Linked DNA regions of Homo sapiens: regions 2 and 3 are each linked to region 1. The links are contacts of gene promoters, found by promoter capture Hi-C in blood cells and fetal thymus (Javierre and others, 2016). All regions are on one chromosome and are shown on one strand. The core of a region is centred on a gene start or on the middle of the fragment in contact, and the rest is flanking DNA. Distances in the headings are between cores, read along the strand shown. Region 1 holds the start of PKDREJ (polycystin family receptor for egg jelly). Region 2 holds the start of LOC124905138 (a long non-coding RNA gene). Region 3 holds the start of LOC105373074 (a long non-coding RNA gene).

What was found. The method cuts DNA at HindIII sites, captures the fragments that hold promoters and counts their contacts. A CHiCAGO score of 5 or more calls a contact.
Region 2: a contact is called between a fragment that was not itself captured here and the fragment with the promoter of PKDREJ in region 1, in 4 of 17 cell types (erythroblasts, megakaryocytes, endothelial precursors and 1 more). The highest score is 9.1, in erythroblasts.
Region 3: a fragment that was not itself captured here is called in contact with the fragment with the promoter of PKDREJ in region 1 in 1 of 17 cell types (erythroblasts); the score reaches 6.7 in erythroblasts.

What each region holds. Positions count from the first base shown.
Region 1 is chr22:46,261,258-46,264,895 of GRCh38, reverse strand. PKDREJ (polycystin family receptor for egg jelly) reads left to right here and starts at 1,553. Exons shown (of 1, transcript NM_006071.2): 1 at 1,553-3,638. The coding sequence starts at 1,574. The HindIII fragment of the contact is 7,014 bases long and covers 1-3,145 here.
Region 2 is chr22:46,142,259-46,145,896 of GRCh38, reverse strand. LOC124905138 (a long non-coding RNA gene) reads left to right here and starts at 1,669. Exons shown (of 2, transcript XR_007068140.1): 1 at 1,669-2,471. The HindIII fragment of the contact is 4,128 bases long and covers 1-3,638 here.
Region 3 is chr22:46,168,675-46,172,312 of GRCh38, reverse strand. The region is part of intron 2 of PPARA (peroxisome proliferator activated receptor alpha); the gene reads right to left. LOC105373074 (a long non-coding RNA gene) reads left to right here and starts at 85. Exons shown (of 2, transcript XR_938315.3): 1 at 85-211. The HindIII fragment of the contact is 5,560 bases long and covers 1-3,638 here.

The DNA.
Region 1 (3,638 bases), core at 304-2,803:
GATTACAGGCATGCACCACCACACCCGGCTAATTTTGTATTTTTAGTAGAGATGGGGTTTCTCCATGTTGGTCAGGCTGGTCTCAAACTCCCAAGCTCAGGTGATCTGCCCGCTTCAGCCTCCCGAAGTGCTGGGATTACAGGGTGAGCCACTGCGCCCAGCCAGTTGCTTTTGATTTTACAGGCTCATAAGCATAAGCGACTTCCTTTGTCTCAGACAGGACTTTGGACTGTGGACTTTTGAGTTAATGTGAAATGAGTTAAGACTTTGGAGGACTGTTGGGAAGGCATGATTGGTTTTGAAATGTGAGGAGATGAGATTTGGCAGGGGTGGAATGATATAGTTTGGCTCTGTGTCCCCACCCAAATCTCATCTTATAGTCCCATAATTCCCACATGTTGTGGGAGGGACCGGGTGGGAGATAACTGAATCACAGGGGCAGTTTCCCCCATATTGTTCTGTGGTAGTGAATAAGTCTCAGGAGATCTGATGCTTTTATCAGGGGTTTCCGCTTTTGCGTCTTCCTCATTTTCTCTTGCCACTGCCATGCAAGAAGTGCTTTTTGCCTCCTGCCATGATTCTGAGGCCTCCCCAGCCATATGGAACTGTAAGTCCAATTAAACCTCTTTTTCTTCCCAGTCTTGGTTATGTCTTTATCAGCAGCATGAAAACGGACTAATACAGGGGAGGGCCAATTAAGACCACGAGTTTGAGACCAGCCTGTGAAACACAGCAAGACACCATCTCTACAAAAATAAAAAATAAATCAGTCAGGTGTAGTGGTGTAGACCTGTAGTATGGGAGGCTGAGGCAGGAGGATTCCTTGAGCCCAGGAGTTCAAGGTTACAGTCAGCTATGATTGCACCATTGCACTCCAGCCTGGGCAACAGAGCAAGACCCTGTCTCTAAAATCATTCAATCCATCAATCAAGTCCCAAAATATACAGCAAAAATGGACAGAGTTAAAGAATGAGGCCAGGCACAGTGGCTCATGCCTGTAATCCCAGCACTTTGGGAGGCCGAGGTGGGTGGATCACTTGAGGTCAAGCCATTGCACTCCAGCCTGGGTGACAGAGACTCCGTCTCAAAAAACAAACAAACAAACAAACAAACAAAAAACAAAACCCCCAAACCAACTAGAAAGAAAAGAGCAAAGCGACCCCAAAGTAAGAAACCGAGAGTCAGACCTTCCTGGGCGCCCAGGGATCTCACGGTTCCCTCCTGATCTCCCATTTTGTGACTGGCTTTCCCAAGGGTTCCTGCTGAAGCCCCTTCTCCGTGGTCAGCTCTGTGGTCTGCACGGGGCTGAACTGCCCTCCTGAGCCATCCTGACCCTGGGCCTGCACACACTTGGGGACGGAGAGGGAAGAGGTACCCAAGAAGTCCCCAGTGCCGACTGACCCCAAGCTCCGAGGTCCCAGCTGCTCTCTGGGACTCTGTCCCTGGGACCCCTCTGCCAGCGCCCTTCGACGCCCGAGACCCCCACTGTCCCCAAGACCCTCACTATCCCCGCGACCCCGGTGGCGGTTGGGCGCGCCTCGCGGCCTCTCCCAGCTTCTCCTGGGCCGGCGCCATGAGGCCTGGGCCCGCTCTCCTCCTTCTGGGCGTGGGCCTGAGCCTGAGCGTCGGCCGCCTCCCGCTGCCGCCGGTTCCTCGCGGGGCACAAGCCGCCGTCTCCGGGGCGCCCGGTGGCCTCCTCAGGGGCGCCCCGGGCCTCGGGGTGCGCGGCGGCCGCGCCCTCCTCAGTCTGCGGCCCAGCGCGGTGCGGGCGGGCGGCGCTGTCCTGAGCGGCCGCGGCAGCCTCTGCTTCCCCCATGGCGGGACCGGGCGGCGCTGGTACTGCCTCGACTTGCGCGTCCTGCTCAGCGCCCAACGCCTGCCCTGGCCGGCCGCGCCCGCGCTCGCGCTCGTCGACCTGCAGCTCTCCGCGCGCGGCGGCCGCCTCTCCCTGACGTGGTCCGTGCGGCTGCCGCGCTCGCCCGGGCGCCTGGCCTGGGCCTTCCGCCTGCGGCTGCTCGGACCCGGCGCCGCCCGCCCGGCCTCCCCCGCGGCCCGCGTCTCCCCGCGCTCCGCCGCGCCAGGCCCGCGGCCCCAGCAGGGCTTCGTGGCCCGCACCGAGTGCCCCACAGACGGCCCCGCGCGCGTGATGTTGCAGGCCGTCAACTCGTCCAGCCACAGAGCCGTCGAGTCGTCCGTGTCCTGTCAGATAAACGCCTGCGTCATCCAGCGCGTGAGGATCAACACGGACCAGAAGGGCGCCCCCGTGCGCCTGAGCATGCAGGCGGAGGCCACCATCAACGCCTCGGTGCAGCTGGACTGCCCGGCCGCGCGCGCCATCGCCCAGTACTGGCAGGTGTTCTCCGTGCCCGCCGTGGGTCAGGCGCCCGACTGGACGCAGCCCTTGGATCTGCCCCAGCTCGAGATCAGGAACAGCCCCTTGTTCATTCACATCCCCAATAATTCGTTACAGTGGGGAGTGTATGTGTTTAATTTCACGGTGTCCATCACCACAGGGAACCCCAAGATGCCCGAGGTGAAAGACTCGGACGCCGTCTATGTCTGGATCGTCAGGAGTTCCCTGCAGGCGGTGATGCTTGGCGATGCCAACATAACAGCTAATTTCACAGAGCAGCTGATTCTGGACGGGTCCACGTCCTCGGACCCAGATGCGGACAGCCCGTTACAGGGACTCCAGTTCTTTTGGTACTGTACCACAGATCCCAGAAACTACGGTGGGGATCGAATAATCCTGGGGAGCAAGGAAGTCTGTCACCCCGAGCAGGCCAATCTGAAATGGCCCTGGGCCTCGGGCCCTGTACTGACACTTTTGCCAGAAACACTTAAAGGCGACCACGTGTATTTCTTCAGAATGGTGATTCGGAAGGACTCTAGGACAGCGTTTTCTGATAAGAGGGTCCACGTGCTCCAAGGACCAAAAGCCATAGCACACATCACATGTATCGAAAATTGTGAGAGAAACTTCATTGTCTCTGATAGATTTTCTTTGTTCCTAAATTGCACAAATTGTGCAAGCCGTGATTTCTATAAATGGTCAATTTTGTCTTCTTCAGGTGGTGAGATGCTATTTGATTGGATGGGGGAAACTGTAACAGGAAGGAATGGTGCTTATCTGTCTATAAAAGCTTTTGCTTTTCGGCATTTTTTGGAAGCTGAGTTTTCGATTTCTCTGTATCTAGCATGTTGGAGTGGAGTGACCTCGGTCTTCAGGCATTCTTTTATTATTAACCATGGCCCTCAGATCGGAGAATGCAAAATTAATCCAGCTAAAGGAATTGCACTTATTACTAAATTTGTTGTCCAGTGTAGTAATTTTAGGGATAAGCACGTCCCTCTTACATATAAAATAATTGTTTCTGATTTGCACAGTGTTGGTGAAATCAGTTCAGTAAAAGAGAACACCCTGGGGACCATCCTGTACTTGGGGCCTCAGTCCACAGTACCCCCTTCCTTTCTCCCTGTTGGTATGTTGGCTAGTCAATATGGCTTGAAGATATATGCCCAGGTCTATGATTCTCTAGGAGCTTTTTCTCAGGTGACTTTGCATGCCACCGCACAGGCTCCCACTGACAAAAATTCATCAAAGACAGTGTTGAATCAGTTACTCAGTTTCACCGTGG
Region 2 (3,638 bases), core at 756-3,255, 120 kb after region 1:
TGGGTGCCTGGGGTTTGGAGTTCAACAGAATTGGATTCAAATCCTCCTGTACCTTTTCCTCAAACTACAACCTCCAGCCGGTGATGCTATCCGAGCCCCCTCATCTCTAAAATGGGGCAGGGACGCCTTCCTGGATGGGTCCTGGTGTGAGTTTGAGGAGGGAGCACGGGGGTGGTGCAGGGTGGGGCCTGATGAGTGGGTCATATTTGGGACATGGTAACCACCAGCTTGAGGGCTCTGTCAAGAGTTGCCTCCTACAGGAAGCCTGCTTGGCAACCGTCCCCCTGCCAAAGCTGCCCTCTGCCTTGTGTGGCCACCACCTCCTGTGTTCCATGCGGCTCTTGTCGCATCCAGCACCATCTTTATGGCGGCCCACTGCCCGGTCCTGTCTCTCCACTCAGGACAGCCGACAGGCAGGCCTCATGCCTCGCAGACACCAGCCCCAGTGCCTACGTGTCTCCCGCCCGTGATCCCCTGTCCCACCCTATTATCTGCCTTTCACCAAAGCATCCTGCCAGCCAGGAAAGGCAATCTGAACCGGAGCCTGTGCAGCTGAGTGGAAGGGGGGCTGCCCTATTGCATTGCTCTGCTTGGGTTTCACTAAAACGTGGGATTGGGCCATGGTCCCTCATCTCCTGGAAGGGACAGGTCATGTTTGACAAAGTTTTCTGGGTCTGCAGCAAAGTGAAAAAAACAAAACAAAACAAAACAAAAAAACAAAAAACTGACATTGTGAAGAGTTTCCTATAGAACTTCAACTAGCTGATTTAAAGAAATACCTCGGGGCCAGGCGTGGTGGCTCATGCCTGTAATCCCAGCACTTTGGGAGGCCGAGGCAGGTGGACCATCTGAGGCCAGGAGTTCGAGACTAGCCTGGCCAACATGGTGAAACCCCATCTCTACTAAAAATACAAAAATTAGCTGCGCATGGTGGCACGTGCCTGTAGTCCCACCTACTCTGGGGGCTGAGGCAGGAGAATCGCTTGAACCCAGGAGGCGGAGGTTGCAGTGACTGGAGATTAGCCTGGGCGACAGAGTGAGACTCTGTCTCAAAAAAAAAGAAAAGAAAAGAAAAGAAAGAGCCTTGGGCTGGGCATGGTGGGCCTGTAATCCTAGCACCTAGGGAGGCTGAGGCAAGTGGATCACCTGAGACAGGAGTTCAAGACCAGCCTGACCAATATGGTGAAACCCGTCTCTACTAAATACAAAAAATTAACTGGGCGTGGTGGTGCATGCCTGTAATCCCAGCTACTTGAGAGGCTGAGGCAGAATTGCTTGAACCCTGGAGGCAGAGGTTGCAGTGAGCCAAGATTGCGCCATTGCACTCCAGCCTGGGCAACGAGAGTGAGAGTCCATCTCAAAAAGAAAAAAAAAAAGCAATAGCCTTTTTTTTCAGGCCAGGCATAGTGGCTCACACCTGTAATCCCAGCACTTTGGGAGGCAGAGGCGGGAGGATTGCTTGAGGCCAGGAGTTTGAGACCAGCCTGGGCAACATAATGAGACCCCGTCTCTACAAAAAGTAAAAAAAAAAAAAATTAGCCAAGCATGGTAGCACGTGCCTGTGGTCCCAGCTACTCAGGAGGCTGAGGTGTGAAGATCACTTGGGCCTGGGAGGTCAAGGCTACAACGAGCTGTGATTGCACCACTGCACTCCAGCCTGGGCAACATTGAGAGGCTCATTTCTTTTCTCAAAGAAAAACAAGACAAATATCCTTTTCCTTCCCAAGACTATATCCTTTATATTCTTTTGTTGTTGTTGAAAATACCTTTCCTTAGTGGGAATTGCTTAGATGAAGTGCTGATATTGGTTAGCTTTGACTTGGCAAAACCAAGATATTGGCAAACACCATGTTTGTCTCCAAAGCTGTTGAAAATGGCACCCATCTGTAAGAGCCCAAGGTCCAAGGGCCGACCCCTCACCCCTCAGATGTGCTTTATTTACTGATAAACATACAGCACCAAGAATTCTTGACATTTTCCCAATCTTTCCATGCCAGCTCTCTTCTCCATTTTATTAGTGATATTTATTTTCAAGTCAACACATTGGTTTGTGTTGAGACTTGCAGCGTTGGAATATAAAGTTCTATGTGAGGCCCTGATTTTGATCTTTCACAAAACCAAGGAGCAGGGTGCGGGCTACAACCTTGAGAACCTGCAGGAGCTACGCCCACACGGGCCTTGGCTGGCATGACATTGGACACCCTCCCAGGGGGGCCCCCGGCCTGGGGAAGAGCCTCCTCTCTGCCTGGGAGCCTCAAGGTGTGCAGAGGAGGGAGTTGGCTGGAGCCAGATGTGTGAAGGCAATCAGTGTTTCTCTGCAAGGTGACGGTGGCGTGGGGCAGGCAGACACAGGACCAGCATCCTGGCAGGCAGGGTTCTTGGATGGCTGGTGGGGAAGACAGGCTGGGAGACTGTCAATTCATCGTTCCCCCTCTCCAGGTGGAGGCATGAAATTAGATCAAAGCATCTTGGTGAGTATTCGTGATGAGTTGAGTTTTTAAAACAAAACCAAATAACTAGCTAGTGGGTGCTCAGTGGGTGGCAAGGACTGAGTTGGCCTTTCCAAGCATGACCCTGCTTCCCTGTCCAGCGTGCCCAGTGCTGACTTTCTCTCAGAGAACATGGTGGGCTCTGGGCTCCTGTGGAGTTTCCAGGACGTTTTCTCAGCTCTGCCTGTTCCCTGGCTCCCTGAGACTTTGGAGTGCGCTGCAGGAGGGACTGGCCATCTGCCCGGCCTGGTCTAGCTGCTGTTCACTCAGGGTTGGGTGCTCTCAGTACCTCCTCTCCCTGCTGGGCTAGGAGTCTGCCCTCACTGCCTCCTCATGCCTGGGGCAGACCTCAGTTTCCCACTAACCCCATTCTTCTAACTCCCTCTCTGTGTGCCTGCCTCCCTCATCACACCAGGAGGGGCTCCGGCAGAGGAACCCTGCCTTCCCCCATGTGTGGCCTCGGCTCCTAGTAGGCAGAATCCTTCCTGCTGCAAAATGGCTCCAGCTTCATGCTGCCCACCCTTGGAGTAAGAGTCAGCCCTGAGCCCAGGCAGGCCAGGGATGTGACTGAGAAGCATAAGCAGTGGGCACCTGGAGGGCCAGAGACGCAGGCTGAGGAGCTGGGATTGTCCTGCAGACAATGTTCTTGGGCAGCCAAGAAAGATGCTTGAGCACCGGCGGGCTCAGATGCAGGGGACCTTCCCAGTCCCCTGTCCTCACCTGCTCAGAGCCGGCAGAAGGAGCAGGAGCGGGGTCCTGAGACACTGTTCCATAAGGGACAATGGCACTGCTGCAAAGATACCACAATGGAAAGTGGTCTTGCCCTACTCGAAAGACAGTAGTTTGAGTGGGAACTCAAAAGTACCACTTGTGAGGCACAAGTCTGTCTTCTTTCTTTCCTTTTTTTTTTTTCCTGGTGCGGAGGGGAGGTTGGATCTTGCTCTGTCACCCAGGCTGGAGTACAGTGGCACAATCATGGTTCACTGCAGCCTCAAACTGCTGGGTTCACATAACCCTCCTGCCTCTGCCTCCTGAGTAGCTGGGACTACAGGTGTACACCACCATGACTGGCTAATTAAAAGTATTATTATTGGCCGGGCGCGGTGGTTCACGCCTGTAATCCCAGCACTTTGGGAGGCTGAGGCGGGC
Region 3 (3,638 bases), core at 299-2,798, 93 kb after region 1:
TTGCATTCATCCTGTGGTTTCCATCCCAGCTCATGGCATCCTGCCCAGGGTATCACTAACTCCCTCCTCACTTCCTGCCACAGCCTCTTCCCTCTCCCTTTTCTAAGGTTCTCACACACGGCTGCCAGGTTCCTCACCTGAAGGAGAACCCTGATCACCTCCTGGGGATGGGCTCTTCTCGAGCATGGCTTCCAAGTACCCAGATTCACAGGTAGGGAAACCGACCAGGGACAGGTATCACCCAAGGCGACACGGCTGCTCAGTGGCTGGGCTGGAGCTAAGGTCAAGGTCTTCCTACACCCAACGCGGTGGAGCCTTTCCCACTTAGCCACCTTGCTTGGCCGGGCCCCACCCCTTCAGGCCCCTCTGCAAACCTCAGAACCACCTATAGCTTCTGCCCGGGCCCTGCAAGCTGCCCAAGGGGGCTTTTTAGCAGCTAGATCAGAGCATATCCAGTCCCCTAAGAAGCCCTCGCTGGTCCCCATCCCATGGCCTTTCACACACAACACAAACCAGAGTCCTCACAACGGCCCCGACCTCCACGAGACTGGTCCTGCCTCTCCCCTGGGACCTCCTGACCTCTTTCTCCTCCTCCTCCTCTCCAGGACACTGCTCGAGTCACACTTCCTGGCTGTTCCTCTCATGAGCCCACCCTGCTGCCCTCCCTGTCAGGATGCTCCCATCCTGATGTCTGCTCCACCTGCTCTCACCTGCTTCCAGCCCTTCCTCAGATGCTAGGTCCTGGTCACCACCTCAGGGAAGCCAAACTGGACCAGCTTCCTGGTGCCCTCACCCCTTCTGGCACCCTTGACCCACTCACCTGTCCTGGGCTTGCTCCTCCTACTGTACCTGAAGGCGGCTAAGTCACCAGGCCAGCTGCTCCATCACTCCACTCATGACCTGTCTGTCCCTGCCAGAGGATCAGCTCTCATAGACGAGGGTGTCATGGGTTTTGTTCACTTACGTATCTTAGAACAATGCCTGGTACAGAGAAGGAGCTCAAATATCTGGTGGAGTTTGAACTAGAATGCACGAATCTTCTCTTCATGTCCCCTAGCAAGCCTTGAACTCTGGCCAAAATAGATGACTCGGCATCTGCCAGCCCCACCCCAGGCTTCCTGGACTCTGTACTTTTTTTTTTTCTTTTTTTATGAGACAGAGTCTTGCTCTGTTGCCCAGGCTGGAGTGCAGTGGCGCAGTCTTGGCTCACTGCGATCTCTGCCTCCTGGGCTCAAGCAATTCTCCTGCCTCAGCCTCCCAAGTAGCTGGGATTACAGGTACCTGCCATTGTGCCTGGCTAATTTTTGTATTTTTAGTAGAGAGAGGGTTTTGCCATGTTGACCAGGCTGGTCTCGAACTCCTGACCTCAGGTGATCTGCTGTCTCGGCCTCCCAAAGTGCTGGGATTACAGGCGTGAACCACTGCACCCAGCCCTGGCCTCTGTACTTTATCCTACTTCTTTCTGCCAGGAATGCATCCCATTCTACACATTTGGGGGGCAGTACAGATGCCTTTCCTCTCCAAAGTGCTCAGGATCCCTCCAGGGGAAGGACTTTGTCCCTCCTCTGAATCACGACAACTCTCATTGTGGGTATTGATGTATGCCTTTTCTGCTCAACTGACCTGTAACTCTTGGAGGAAGAATTCTTGTCTGTCATCTTCCTCTCCTACACCAGGCAGACGTTCAATAAAAATTTACAGAATGAGTCTGACATTGGTGCTAAATTCTGAACATTGTTCCCTGTCTTACAAAAACTCAAATCAGGACCGGTGCAGTGGCTCACACCTGTAATCCCAGCACTTTGGGAGGCTGAGACAGGCTGATCCCTTGAGTCCAGGAGTTTGAGACCAGCCTGGGTGATATGACAAAACCCCGTCCCTACAAAAAAAAAAAAAAAAAAAAAAAAAAATTAGCTGGGTGTGGTGGTACACACCTGTGGTCCCAGCTACTTAGGAGGCTGAGGTGGGTGGATCACTTGAGGCCAGGAGTGAGCCAAGATCACACCACTGCACTCCAGCCTGGGTGACAGAGTAAGACCGTGTCTCAACAAAACAAAACAAACAACTCCCACCCCCCTGCCACCAAAAACACACTTACATCATTTTAAGTAATGGACCTATGAAAAAGAGCCTGTATACAGTACAAGTATTTAAAGGACAAGACTGGTTGCAGAACAAATGTTTTTCTAAAAAAAAAAAACAAAGATGAATGCAACTTAAAGTGACAAGAATGCTAATGGAACAGAAGCCAGCTGTTTAAGAGGAAAACTGAATTTTCTTGTTAAAAAGTAAAGTTCCTGAAGTGCATCCCATGACAGCCTGGGAGGGAGTGCATTGAACAGTTTTCAGGCCATTTGAACTGTCTATAGTCAGCTCTGTAAAGTCCACATCATTCAAGTAAACGTAGTCAGGATGCCTACATGTGCTTGGTGTCAGATGTCAGTATCCCTTGTGTGACACATGAGGCTTTTCTTAAGATGACTGACACCTTCCTAATACTGAGCTGTCCCTTCCATGAACATAGTATATCCATCTATTTATTTGGGCTATATTTAAGCTCTCTTAATAACATAATCAGTTTTCTGAGTAGAGATCTTATATATCTTTTTCAGATTTATTCCTAGATATAGATACACTATAAAAGTAACTTTTAATTAATAAACTTTCTTATTTAGAGAAGTTTTGGGCTTACAGAAAAATTGAGTGGAAAGTACAGAGAGGTCTCATATACCACCTCACTCCCACCACAGTTTCCCTGTTATTAACATCTTGCATTGGTGGCCGGGCGTGATGGCTCATGCCTGTAATCCCAGCACTTTGGGAGGCCGAGGCGGGCAGATCACGACAGCAGGAGATCAAGACCATCCTGGCTAGCATGGTGAAACCCCGTCTCTACTAAAAATACAAAAAATTAGCCGGGCGTGGTGGCGGGCGCCTGTAGTCCCAGCTACTCCGGAGGCTGAAGCAGGAGATTGGCGTGAACCCGGGAGGCGGAGCTTGCAGTGAGCCGAGATTGCGCCACTGCACCCCCTCCGTCACAAAACAAACAAACAACAAACAAACATCTTGCATTGGTGAGGTACATTTGTTGCCACTGATGAGCCAATGTTGACATATTATTGCTAACTGAAGCCCACAGTTTTCATTTTCACTCTTTGTGTTGTACATTTTATGGGTATTGACAAATGCCTAATAACATGTATTCATCGTTACGGTACCATACAGAATAGTTTCACTGCCCTAAACATGCCCTGTGTTCCACCTATTCATTCCTCTTTCCCTCCCCATGAGCCCCTGGCAACCACTGGCGCATCTTTTTACTGTCTTCATAGTTTTGCCTTTCCCATAATGTGTAGCCTTGGAAGCAGACAGTATATAGCTTTTTCACTTTGAGTTCTTTCAGGTATACAATATTTTCGATAATAATGTAAGTGGTATTATTTGCCAAAATGTTTTCCAAAGTGGCTATCATTTTACATTCCCATCAGCAGTGTATGAGAGTTCTTATTCCACATTCTTACGCATACTTGGTCAGACTGCTTAATTACAGCCACTCTTGTGGGTGTGTAGTGATATCTTTCTACGAAGAGAGATGTCTATGAACTTGCATTTCCCTAGTGACTAATGAGGGAAAGGCA